Regions from separate parts of the Homo sapiens genome. Here region 1 is linked to region 2. Evidence: promoter capture Hi-C in human tissues and cell types (Jung and others, 2019). All regions are on one chromosome and are shown on one strand. Each heading gives the region's core, a stretch centred on a gene start or on the middle of the fragment in contact. The rest is flanking DNA. Distances are from core to core; before and after follow the strand shown.

Region 1 (5,462 bases), core at 1,887-4,386, 470 kb before region 2:
GATGAACTGAGTTATCTGAGAAAAGGGGATTACTTTGTTCCAAGTACTTTACAAGCAGGAACTCATGTAATCTTCCTCTCAAGGGAACTGTGAAGTAGATACTTATGCTAACCTTATAGGTGTGGAAACTGAGGTGCAGAGAGGTTGTGTCAGAACTGACATTTCAACAGAGGTGTTGTTCCTTTAGTGTCCTTGCTCCTAACTGCCTTTGTTACACCTGAGCATCTCTGGACTCATGCAATGCTTTGTGTTGCTTGGGATGGGGGCCCTCAGGGCTGACTACAATAGAAGTCAGATTGGCAGGAGGAAGAAGCATTGGGTCTCTCTTGTCAAGAGCTAATTATTCCAGATACGTGGGCCAGCTCAGAGGTGCAGAGCAAGAAAGGAAACCATCCAAACTTCTGAGGAAGAGAGGAGATTGCATCTGCCCAGCCAGACATGATGTTCACTTAAAGCCTTCATTGTGTTAGAGCCTTAATGGGGGGGGGGGGGCGGGTGGGATATCCAGGAGGGCACAAGGGAGAGGGGAAGCAGGTTTACTTCCTGCAACAATGGAAGTGTTCAGGATGGGCTTTGTCCCAGTGGCACCAAGGAACATTGCAAGTCTTCCAAAAGGAACACATACTATAGGGTAAAGTTAGTGCTAGCTACTAGTGCTGGCTACTACAAAAAGCATCATTCATGTAAACATGTAGTGCATGGTGATTCAGGACTGCTATTCACATGAAGCACAGTGTGAAGGTGCCCATGGAATTTTGCTGGCTTCCTAATTTTTCACTAGAAAGCATGTGAAGAATCCTTCTCTGATGGATGCAGTGGTTCCTGCCTGTAATCTTAACGCTTTTGGGGGGCCGAGGTGGGAGGATTGCTTGATTCCAGGAGTTTGAGACCAGCCCTGGAAACATAGTAAGACCCAGTCTCTACAAAAAATTTAAAAAATAGCCAGGTGTGGTGCACACCTGTGGTCCCAGTTACTCAGGAGGCTGAGGTGAGCAGCTTGCTTGAACCCAGGAGGTGAAGGCTACAGTAGCCATAATCACATCACTGAAGGCCAGCCTGGGCAACAGAGTGAGATCCTGTCTCACCCCCACCTCCACCAAAAAGAAAAGGATTCTTCTCTCTCTGTCTCCTCCATCCAGGTCTTGGTTAATTTTATTGCTGACTATCCTTCCAGGTTAACCTCAGAACAAACCAGTAGTGAAGAAACATAAAAGTACACATGAGTTTTGAAATGGGTTAGGTATTGGGCTACAAGAAACACCCAGTGATAGCACAGGTGCAGGCTCCAGTGGATTGAGGACAATTCATGAATTTACCTATTCCATTTATCTACCTATTTATTCCACCCTGATTTATTTCTTCTCTCAGGGAACATTAACTGACATTTACCAAGTGCCGCTCTGCCAAGCATTGGGAAGAATAAAACACCATGGTTCCTGTTCTCAAGGTTAGGAAAAAAAAGATTCAAAACCAACCCTGCAGAATAGAAAGGCACACATGGCAGTGGAAAAATGTACTAACTTCAGTGCAGACACCTAGGAGGGCGTGACGAGGGGCAGAGAGTGGGAAGAGAATGGGTGAGAACATTCCAGCAGAAGGAGTTCATTCAGGGAGCCAGGGGGAAGCAGCCAGATGGCAGATTCTAAACAAATTCAGCCGATGGTTTCCATTTTATACAGGCTGGTGCCCAAATATGAAATGAGATAATGCTCATGATAAGGTTTCATAAGTGGAAAATAAGCACCTCCCCAGTTGTAGATATTAGAGGTTATTTCTGGGCTGTACTGAGGTAAATGGGCTTTTAACGCAGGCAGCAGGGCTATGGTTAGCTCTGAGGTGCCAGTGGCCAGCAAAGCTGCTAGAAATCCTGAAAAAATTTCTGCCAGAGAATTCCTGAAAAAATTACTTGTGAGCCAACAATGACCACTTTCCTTTATTGGGCAATGTGCTAGGCACTTGGTCTTCAGTCCTCATGTATAGCCTGGAATAGGTCTGATTATTCTCATGTTATAGACAAGGAAACTTCGGCTGCTGGGAATAACTCATTTGCCAGGGTCACATAGGTAGGACATGCCAAAACAAAGATTCAAACCATGTTCGCCCAACCCCAGTGGAATCTTTCTCCTTTGGGGATGTCAGTTTTATTTGCTTATAAGTAAAACCCTGAGTAAGCTGGAAGCAAGCTTGGTCAGAGAATAATAGTATTACAGCATTATTTCTCTTTTTGGGGCTGCCTTTTCCTATCTGTACAGAGAAAATGTAACATGTTAGCAATGTTGTCTTTTGTTTATGGAGTTATTTAAAAAATGATTTGGTAGCCAGGCACGGTGGCTCACACCTGTATTCCCAGCACTTTGGGAGGCCGAGGCAGGCGGATCACGAGGTCAGGAGATCAAGACCATCCTGACTAACATGGTGAAATGCTGTCTCTACTAAAAATACAAAAACTAGCCAGGCGTGGTGGCGGGCGCCTGTAGTCCCGGCTACTCGGGAGGCTGAGGCAGGAGAATGGCGTGAATCTGGGAGGCAGAGCTTGCAGTGAGCCGAGATCGTGCCACTGCACTCCAGTCTGAGTGACAGAGCGAGACTCAGTCTCAAAAAAAAAAAAAAAAAAAAAAAAGATTTGGTGTTTTCTACAAATTTTCAAAATGGCCAGGCTTTACTTTACCAGTAGAAGATAGTAAACTTTATAGAAAAATGAAAATACAGTTATGATAGTACTGTGGTTTAAATGCATCCCCCAAAATTCACGTGTTGGAAACTTAATCCCCAATTCAGCAGTGTTGGGTGGTGGGGCCTACCAGGTGGTGATTGGGTCATGAGGGCGGCGCCCTCATGAATGGATGAGTGTTGTTATTGTAGGAGTGGGTTAGTTTTGGAGAGAGTGGGCTGTTATAAAGCAAGTCTGACCCTGGCACTCTTCTTTTTACACATGCTTGCTGGCCTATCCTCCCTTTTGCACTTCTACCATGGCATAATGCAGCCTGAAGGCCCTCACTAGATGTCAGCCTGTTGACACTGGACTTCCCAGCCTCCACAACCATGAGCTAAATACATTTCAGTTTTTTTTAAATTATGAAGTCTGTCAATTATTCTAGGTGAAGTAACTCAGGAATGGAAAACCAGACATTGTATGTTCTCAGTCATATGTGGTTGCTAAGCTATGAGAATGCAAAGGCATAAGGATGATACATTGGGCCGGGTGCAGTGGCTCGTGCCTGTAATCCCAGCACTTTACTGCCCGGGCTGAGGCGGGCAGATCACGAGGTCAAGAGATCGAGACCATCCTGGCCAATATGGTGAAACCCCGTCTCTACTAAAAATACAAAAATTAGCCGGGTGTGGTGGCAGGTGCCTGTAGTCCCAGGTACTCGAGAGGCTGAGGCAGGAGAATCGCTTGAACCCGGGAGGTGGAGGTTGCAGTGAGCTGAGATTACGCCACTGCACTCCAGCCTGGGCAACAGGGTGAGACTCTGTCTTTAAAAAAAAAAAAAAAAAAAAAAAGAAAGAATGATACGTTGGACTTTGGGGACTCGGAGGAAAGGGTGAGGGGTGGTGAGGAATAAAGGACTACACATTGGGTACAGTGTACACTCTTCCGGTGATAGGTGCACCAAAAGCTCAGCAATCACTGCTAAAGAACTTATTCATGTAGCCAAACACCACCTGTTCTCCACAAACCTATTGAAATAATAAAAGTAAAAAAATAAAAGCAATGGAGATGGAAAAAAGGAAATTACGAAGTCTGTGGTATTCTGTTATAGCAGAACAAAATGAACTAAGACAGTGTTTTAATCCTGAGCTATGTCATATGGATTTCTATAAAATGAAATTGAAAATTGATATCTAATTGTATTTAGCTACCCAGAAACCAAGATCCCTAGTGTTACAAAAGGTTCTCTACACCTCACTTTAAAAAGTTATTATTTCCCATTAACTTTCTTAATTAGTAGTTTTCTTTTGGATGACTGGCTTCTTAGTCCACTGTTGCTGCTGTATCAGAATACCTGAGACTGGGTAATTCATAATAAACAGAAATTTATTGGCTCCAAGTTCTAGAGTCTTTGAAGTCCAAGATTGAGATGCCAGTATTTGGCAATGGATTTCTTGCTGCATTATTCCATAGCAGGAAGTAGAAGGGCAAGAGAGGGCAAGAAGGGCCAAACCAGCCCTTTTAAAATGGCACTAAGCTCACTAATGAAGTTGGAGCCCTCGTGGTCTAATTGCCTCTTAAAGGCCTCACCTTTTATTTATTTATTTGTTTGTTTTTTGAGACAGGGTCTCACTCTGTCACACAGGCTGGAGTGCAGTGGCACAATCATGGCTCACTGCAGCCTCAACCTCTGAGGCTCAGGTGACCTCCAACCTCAGCCTCCTGGGTAGCTGGGACTACGGATGTATGCCACCCAGCTAATTTTCATATTTTTGGCAGAAATGGGGCTTTGCCATGTTGCCCAGGCTGGTCTCAAACTCCTGGGCTCAAGCAGTCCTCCCACCTTGGTCTCCCAAAGTGCTAGGGTTATAGGCATGAGCCACTGTGCCCTGCTAGGTCTTACCTCTTAATACTGTTACAATGGCAATTAAATTTTAACGCAAGTTTTGGAGGGGCCAAACATTCAAATCATAGCTATTGGGGACTGTTTGAATCTGAAGTCTCTCTCCAGAGGCTTGAGATGATTAAGACTTGAGATGACTACTGGGGACTATTTGGATCTCAAGTCTCTCTCCAGAGACTTGAGATCATTAAGTTTCAGTTGATGTCTCTGACTCTGTCCCAAACAGTAGGCATATAACTCATTCATTCTTTGAGGAGCTTCCAAGGGGTTTTCTTCAACCACTGCTCATCTCCTATCTTGGCTGGGCAGGGTAGGGCGAGTGTGATAAATATATTAAAAACAAACTAATTTTTTTTTGGTTAATAAAATTTAATCCTCCCACACAGCAGTATGATTAAAAAGAATTTTCTCTAGGGCTGGGGTGATGTGATTTTATCAAAATGGTTATAGTAATATCTGTGTGCATTAATTTTCTATTGCTGATGCAACAAATTACCACAAATTGTGTGGCTTAAAATAACATAATCTTTTAATCTTACAATTCTGGAAGTCAGAAATCTAAAATGGGTCTCACTGGGCTAAAATCAAGGTATCAGCAGGGCGTCAATTTTTCCTGGAGGCTCTAGGGGAGAATCTGTTTTCATGTCTTTTCCAATTCTTGGAAACAATTCACATTCCTTGGCTTATGGTTCCTTCCTCCATCTTGGAAGCCAGCAATGTTGCATCTCTCTTACTATTCTTCCCAGGTTTCATTTCCCTCTGACTCTCTCCTTCTGTCTCCCTCTTCCATGTTTAATAGTCCCTTTAACCACCCAGATAATCCAGCATACTCTCCCCTTCTCAGAGCCTTTAACTTAATGTTTTAGTTAGGGCTTTCCAGAGAGACACAATCTGTAGCATGGATGG
Region 2 (5,372 bases), core at 311-2,810:
TTAATAGATATAATCATGTTTGATGTGTTTTAAACAATTGCGATTATCTTTTTTTTTTTTTTTTTTGATGCTCAAATTAGCCCGTCTTTGGTCAGTGACAGCCTATTTGAATTGTCCCCTTCTTGACACAACCCTAGTGGTAGTTGATAGTTTTCTTGCTTTCTGAAAATATTTACAGATAAAATGATATGATGCTCTGGGATTTGCTTCAAAATGATGACATAGGAAAAAGGGGTATAGATGAAATATGACTGTCCATGAGTTCATAATTGTTCAAGCTGGTTATGGCCCCATGGAGATTCATTATACTACTTTCTTACATTTGTATATGTTTGAAATTTTCTAAATTAAAAGTTAAAGATAAAAAAATTCAGTCAGGCACCTATAGTCTGCAAGCACTTGGGAGTCTGAGGCTGGAGGATGGCTAGAGCCCAGGAATTCAAGACAAGCTTGGGCAACATAGCAAGATTCAGTCTCGAAAGGAGAAAGAAAAAGAAAAGTTGAGTCTTGAATGCCTGGCTTTGATTGGGGGGTGGGGGGAAGAAAAATATTTCTAAGTTCCCTAGGCTTCCCTTTACTTATTGATGAGTAGGCCCAGAGGTCTGACTACAGAGCTGTACTCTAAGTCAGAGGTCATGAGCTCTCAGGATATACCCATTACCCCCATTGTAAGGAGGGCATGAAGAAACCCTCTTGGATGGGGGAGAGAACAGAAGGATGGAGGGTAAGGAGAGGGGAAAATGTGCGAAAAGCTTTCAGAGCTTCACGAGTTGGGTACCTCTTGGCAGCTTTGCTGGTGGTCACAGGGTTGGGTAAAAGGGGTTCCCTCACTACCAATTTGTCTTACCACCGTCTTCCATTCTTTGGCCCAGATTCTAGTCTCTCATCCCCAACAAGCCTGATTCTATTTCTTGTGGTCAAGGGGATCTTGCTTTCCAGATAGGACAGGAAGGAGCACTGGGCTGGACATCCCGAGGCCAAAAGCCGAAGCCTGTCAGTGATTCAAAATGACACGGGGTTTTGGGTCTCACTTTCATCACCCATGAAATGAAAGGTCACCCTGCAAGACTGAAGCCCCTGCAGTGTCCCAAGCATCCAAATCCAACACTCAAGAAACCCTGGACCCCAACAGCCTGTCCTGCAGGCCTCCGTGCCTTTTCATTGAACGTCTTTTCCACCATTACACATCACATCGCCTCCTAAAGAAAAGCGCGACTGCTATCACTTTTTGCAGATAATTGGAGAGGCGGTGCCCAGCATAAGATGACCCCAAAGTTGACAGCACTTTCAGGCTTTGTGAATTAGGCGCGTCACCGACCTGTACGATTTCTCCTCTCTGCCCTTGCTCGCCTGCAAATCCTGACCCCCGTCCACACTGCGGAGAAATCTCCTAAGAGACGGCTGCCAGCGTCGCCTCTGCGCCCAGGAGGCGTGGAGCAAAGGACTCGGGAGCTGAGCGCGCTGCGGCCCCGCTCCCAGCGCACAGCGCACAGCCCAGAGGGAGGGGCCGGCGGGGGCCGGGCAGCGCCAGACTCGGAGCGCCGGGCTCACAGCGGCTCAGTCTCCTCCCGAACCCAGCCCGGCTGGCGAGAGCGGCAGCCAGTGCGAGCCAGAGCCCGGGCCTCAGAGCGGGTAGGCGGAGGGCCGGCGGACTGGAGCGGCGGGCCGCGCTCGGGGGCCCCGCCGTGTGCGCGTCCTCCCATCTTATCCTGGTAAGTGCGGGCGGCTGCGCCCCGCCTGCCGCTGTAGCCGCTGTGGCGGTCGTCCCCGCATCCCGGTTGCGCGCATCCCGTTGCTGCTCTGCAGGCTCACAGGTGGCTCTGCCGTGGATGTGGGCGCCCCAGGCCCCGCTAGGAGTTAGCCAACTCTCTGTGCTCCGGGGCGTGGATTTGGAGCCCCCGCCTCTCCTACCCTTGCTTTTGGCTTGGGATGGGGGGCGTGGGGCAGGGCCTGCCGTCGGGGGAGACGCGCAGAGGGGCGCTTCCATTCCCCAGCCACCTACAAACGACTCAGGGGGATGCGGGCCAAGCGCCTCACCAAATGCAACCCAGCTCCAAGCTCACAGGTGGGGCGTCTGTCCTTTAGATTTATTTTCCTATTAATCCACCAGGGAAAGTTTGGGACCACGCAAGGCAAAGTTGGGGCGCGGCTGGGGGCGAACATTCTCCTACGGAGGCAGCTCCCGGGGAGACGAGCGGTGGGTTTTCAGGGGGAGCGAGGATCGGGCTGGAGATGACTTTGCGCCCGGGGAGTTGAATCTGTCCCTGCTGGTCGCCCGGGCCGGGCATTTACACAATCCCCTGAGTGCTGTGAATCGCTTAATCGTTCCTGCTAAGCGTTGACGTTCGCAGCCACCTGGGAATCTCCGTGATGGGGTCGGGTTATCTCAGGAGTAGCAGCAACTCAGCGGGGTTGATTTGTGCTCTTGCTTTGCTCTGAAAACCTGAGCTCCAGCTAATCTCAGTATTTAAGTGGCGTGTGTTTAATTAGCTTATTTTACACCTGAGATTATCTCAGCGACTGCCTCCAAAATGAAATCGTTGATATGGAAAAGAATAGTCTTTTTAAAGAAAAACTAAAAAGAGAACTCTTCAGAATATCAGCTGTCAAGTCTGGCTATTTTACCCATCTCCTCCGTGGGATAGAGAAAGAAAACTCTGCTTTGGATATCTAACCTATTAAAGTCAGTGGTGGGGCTATTTTGGGCAGATTTTGTGGACAGAGGTATTGCTACAACTTGCGTATTGTTTATGAAATACACATGTGGTCTCTCGAAATAGCCTACTTGTTATTTCACTGCATTGGGAGTTCTTTGACTTACTAAGCTGCCTATTTTAAATATGACTAAAGGTTGTTTTTTTAAAAAAAATATTTAGCTGAAAACAATGTCTAGATGTTTAGGGAAGGCAGCTTGTGCATGTCACCAGAATTTTTTTTTGTAAACTTAAATTTGTAAAGGACTACTTTCCCGCATCTGATAAAGGAGAGACTTTTTATGAAAAATAAGATCTGATATCATTATGTGTGCAGAAAAAAGATCACTAAATTAAAGAATCACTCACTTTCCAAATGATAGGTTAAATCAGAAAAAGTTGCCTACAACTGAGAATTATGTAATTGGACCAAAAGTAAACAATGAATAATTGTTAGTTGCCAAGTACCTAGACAGTTCTGAAAGAAGTCTAGGTACCTTTATAGCACTGGAAGGTTATTACATGATTTAAGGTGAGATAATCTGATAGATTTTCACCTGTAAAATTTTTATTCTTACATCTGCCTTCTCTGCACCTAACATTGGATTTACCAAAATATTTATTTGGGTTTATACATACATCTTCATAAGTGCCACATCCCATACTAAGTGCTACATATGTTTTTACTCATCTTGAAAACAATCCTGGGTGGTAGGTACCGTAATTGTCCCCATTTTAAATGAGGAAACTGAGGCACAGAGAAGTTAAGTAACTTACCCAAGATCGCACAGCTGCAGGACAGGACTTTATCATATCTGCAAAGATCTTTATTAAAAAGACGTGATTTTATGATTTACTTATTCTCGTTTTTATTTTTATTTAAGCATAAATGATGAAAGTTTCCTGTGAAGCATAACAATCCCTGATTGTGAAAGTACCCCACAAGCATCGTTAACTATAAAGTAAGGAAAAGTATGAAAGAACCATCTGGTTGAGTCTAAAGTTGGAAGATCACCATATCCACCAGAAGACCCAGGATGGATCTGCAACAAAGCACCACCATCACTTCCCTAGAGAAATGGTGTTTGGATGAGTCACTGTCTGGCTGCAGAAGACATTATAGTGTCAAGAAAAAACTGAAGTTAATTCGAGTCTTAGGCCTTTTCATGGGTCTGGTAGCCATTAGCACTGTCTCATTTTCAATCAGTGCCTTTTCTGAGACAGATACACAGAGCACAGGAGAGGCCAGTGTTGTAAGTGGCCCTAGGGTAGCACAGGGTTACCATCAGAGAACTCTCTTAGATTTAAATGACAAGATTCTGGATTATACTCCACAGCCACCTCTTTCTAAGGAAGGCGAGTCTGAGAATAGTACAGATCACGCCCAAGGAGACTACCCGAAAGACATCTTTTCCCTTGAGGAGAGAAGAAAAGGTGCGATCATTCTGCATGTCATTGGAATGATCTACATGTTCATAGCCTTAGCCATTGTCTGTGATGAGTTCTTTGTTCCTTCTTTGACTGTCATCACTGAAAAACTGGGCATCTCTGATGATGTGGCTGGAGCCACCTTCATGGCTGCAGGAGGGTCAGCCCCAGAACTTTTCACATCTCTCATAGGGGTATTTATCGCTCACAGCAACGTTGGCATAGGCACAATTGTAGGTTCAGCAGTATTCAACATCCTCTTTGTTATTGGCATGTGTGCTCTGTTTTCTAGAGAAATCTTAAACCTGACATGGTGGCCGCTCTTTCGAGATGTGTCTTTCTACATTGTTGACTTGATCATGCTGATCATATTTTTCCTGGATAATGTCATCATGTGGTGGGAAAGCTTGCTTCTCTTAACAGCTTATTTTTGCTATGTGGTTTTCATGAAATTCAACGTCCAAGTAGAAAAATGGGTGAAGCAAATGATAAACCGCAATAAGGTCGTCAAGGTGACAGCACCAGAAGCCCAAGCAAAGGTTGGTGGTGGTGGATTTTTATTTAATGCTTTTCTTGACTACGGTTCTGAATTATTATGTTTTTGAGATCTGCAGTTCTTTTGATGTGATGGTGTTTGGGGCTCTTGTGGATAGCAGATTGATTCTGCAGTTCTGTGATAGCTAGACTAACATAGCAGTGGAAAAAATAATTTTGGGGTATTCTTGCAGATGTTTACTAAGTTCCTCAGCTACTTGCTTCAGAGTAAAACACTTGTAAATATAGGTTACATAAGCCTCCCAAAGCCAATTCAGCAGTTATTTGTCTCTTATTTTCTGAAAGTGGGCATAATGATTTTGTGAACAATTTAATTTTCATAGGAAAGTGTGTATGTGCCTAGAAAGTTGCAAGGCCTTTTCTTTTTAAATGAACACATGGCAATTACCAAGAAAGAACCATCTCTTTAGAGATGTCTGAGGAAGAAAGTTTGTGTCACCGTAGCTGTACCTTCCAGTCAGCAGCCTAGCCCAGCAGGGCTTGTCATTATTGTTGTCATGGCTGTTTTTCTTGATTGACACAATCATGTCTTAGGTCACTTGACCAGGAACTGATCAGCATCCATTGTAAAGAGAATCATTGGCCAGCCCTGCCATCTGCCTCTGCATCACAATGACCCACTTTGCACACCATAATAAACATGACTTCAACTATTTTTAGAGTAGAATTTGAGGGAGTTTTAATAACAATCGTGGC

Evidence for each region. Contacts are between HindIII fragments. The study calls those that stand out against the background at their distance.
Region 1: a contact is called between a fragment that was not itself captured here and the fragment with the promoter of SLC24A2 in region 2, in 2 of the 25 tissues and cell types used here (H1 embryonic stem cells and stomach).

The regions. Positions count from the first base shown.
Region 1 is chr9:20,258,892-20,264,353 of GRCh38, reverse strand. It overlaps a transcript of SLC24A2 not described here. Among named protein-coding and RNA genes, the nearest start is that of MIR4473, 150 kb to the left of the region's middle. The HindIII fragment of the contact is 9,207 bases long and covers 1-5,462 here.
Region 2 is chr9:19,785,225-19,790,596 of GRCh38, reverse strand. It overlaps SLC24A2 (solute carrier family 24 member 2), which reads left to right and starts at 1,560. Exons shown (of 11, transcript NM_020344.4): 1 at 1,560-1,712; 2 at 3,578-4,660. The coding sequence starts at 3,731. It overlaps LOC124902128 (a long non-coding RNA gene), which reads right to left and starts at 1,438. Exons shown (of 2, transcript XR_007061432.1): 1 at 1,319-1,438. RefSeq lists an enhancer at 1,997-2,644. The HindIII fragment of the contact is 14,556 bases long and covers 1-5,372 here.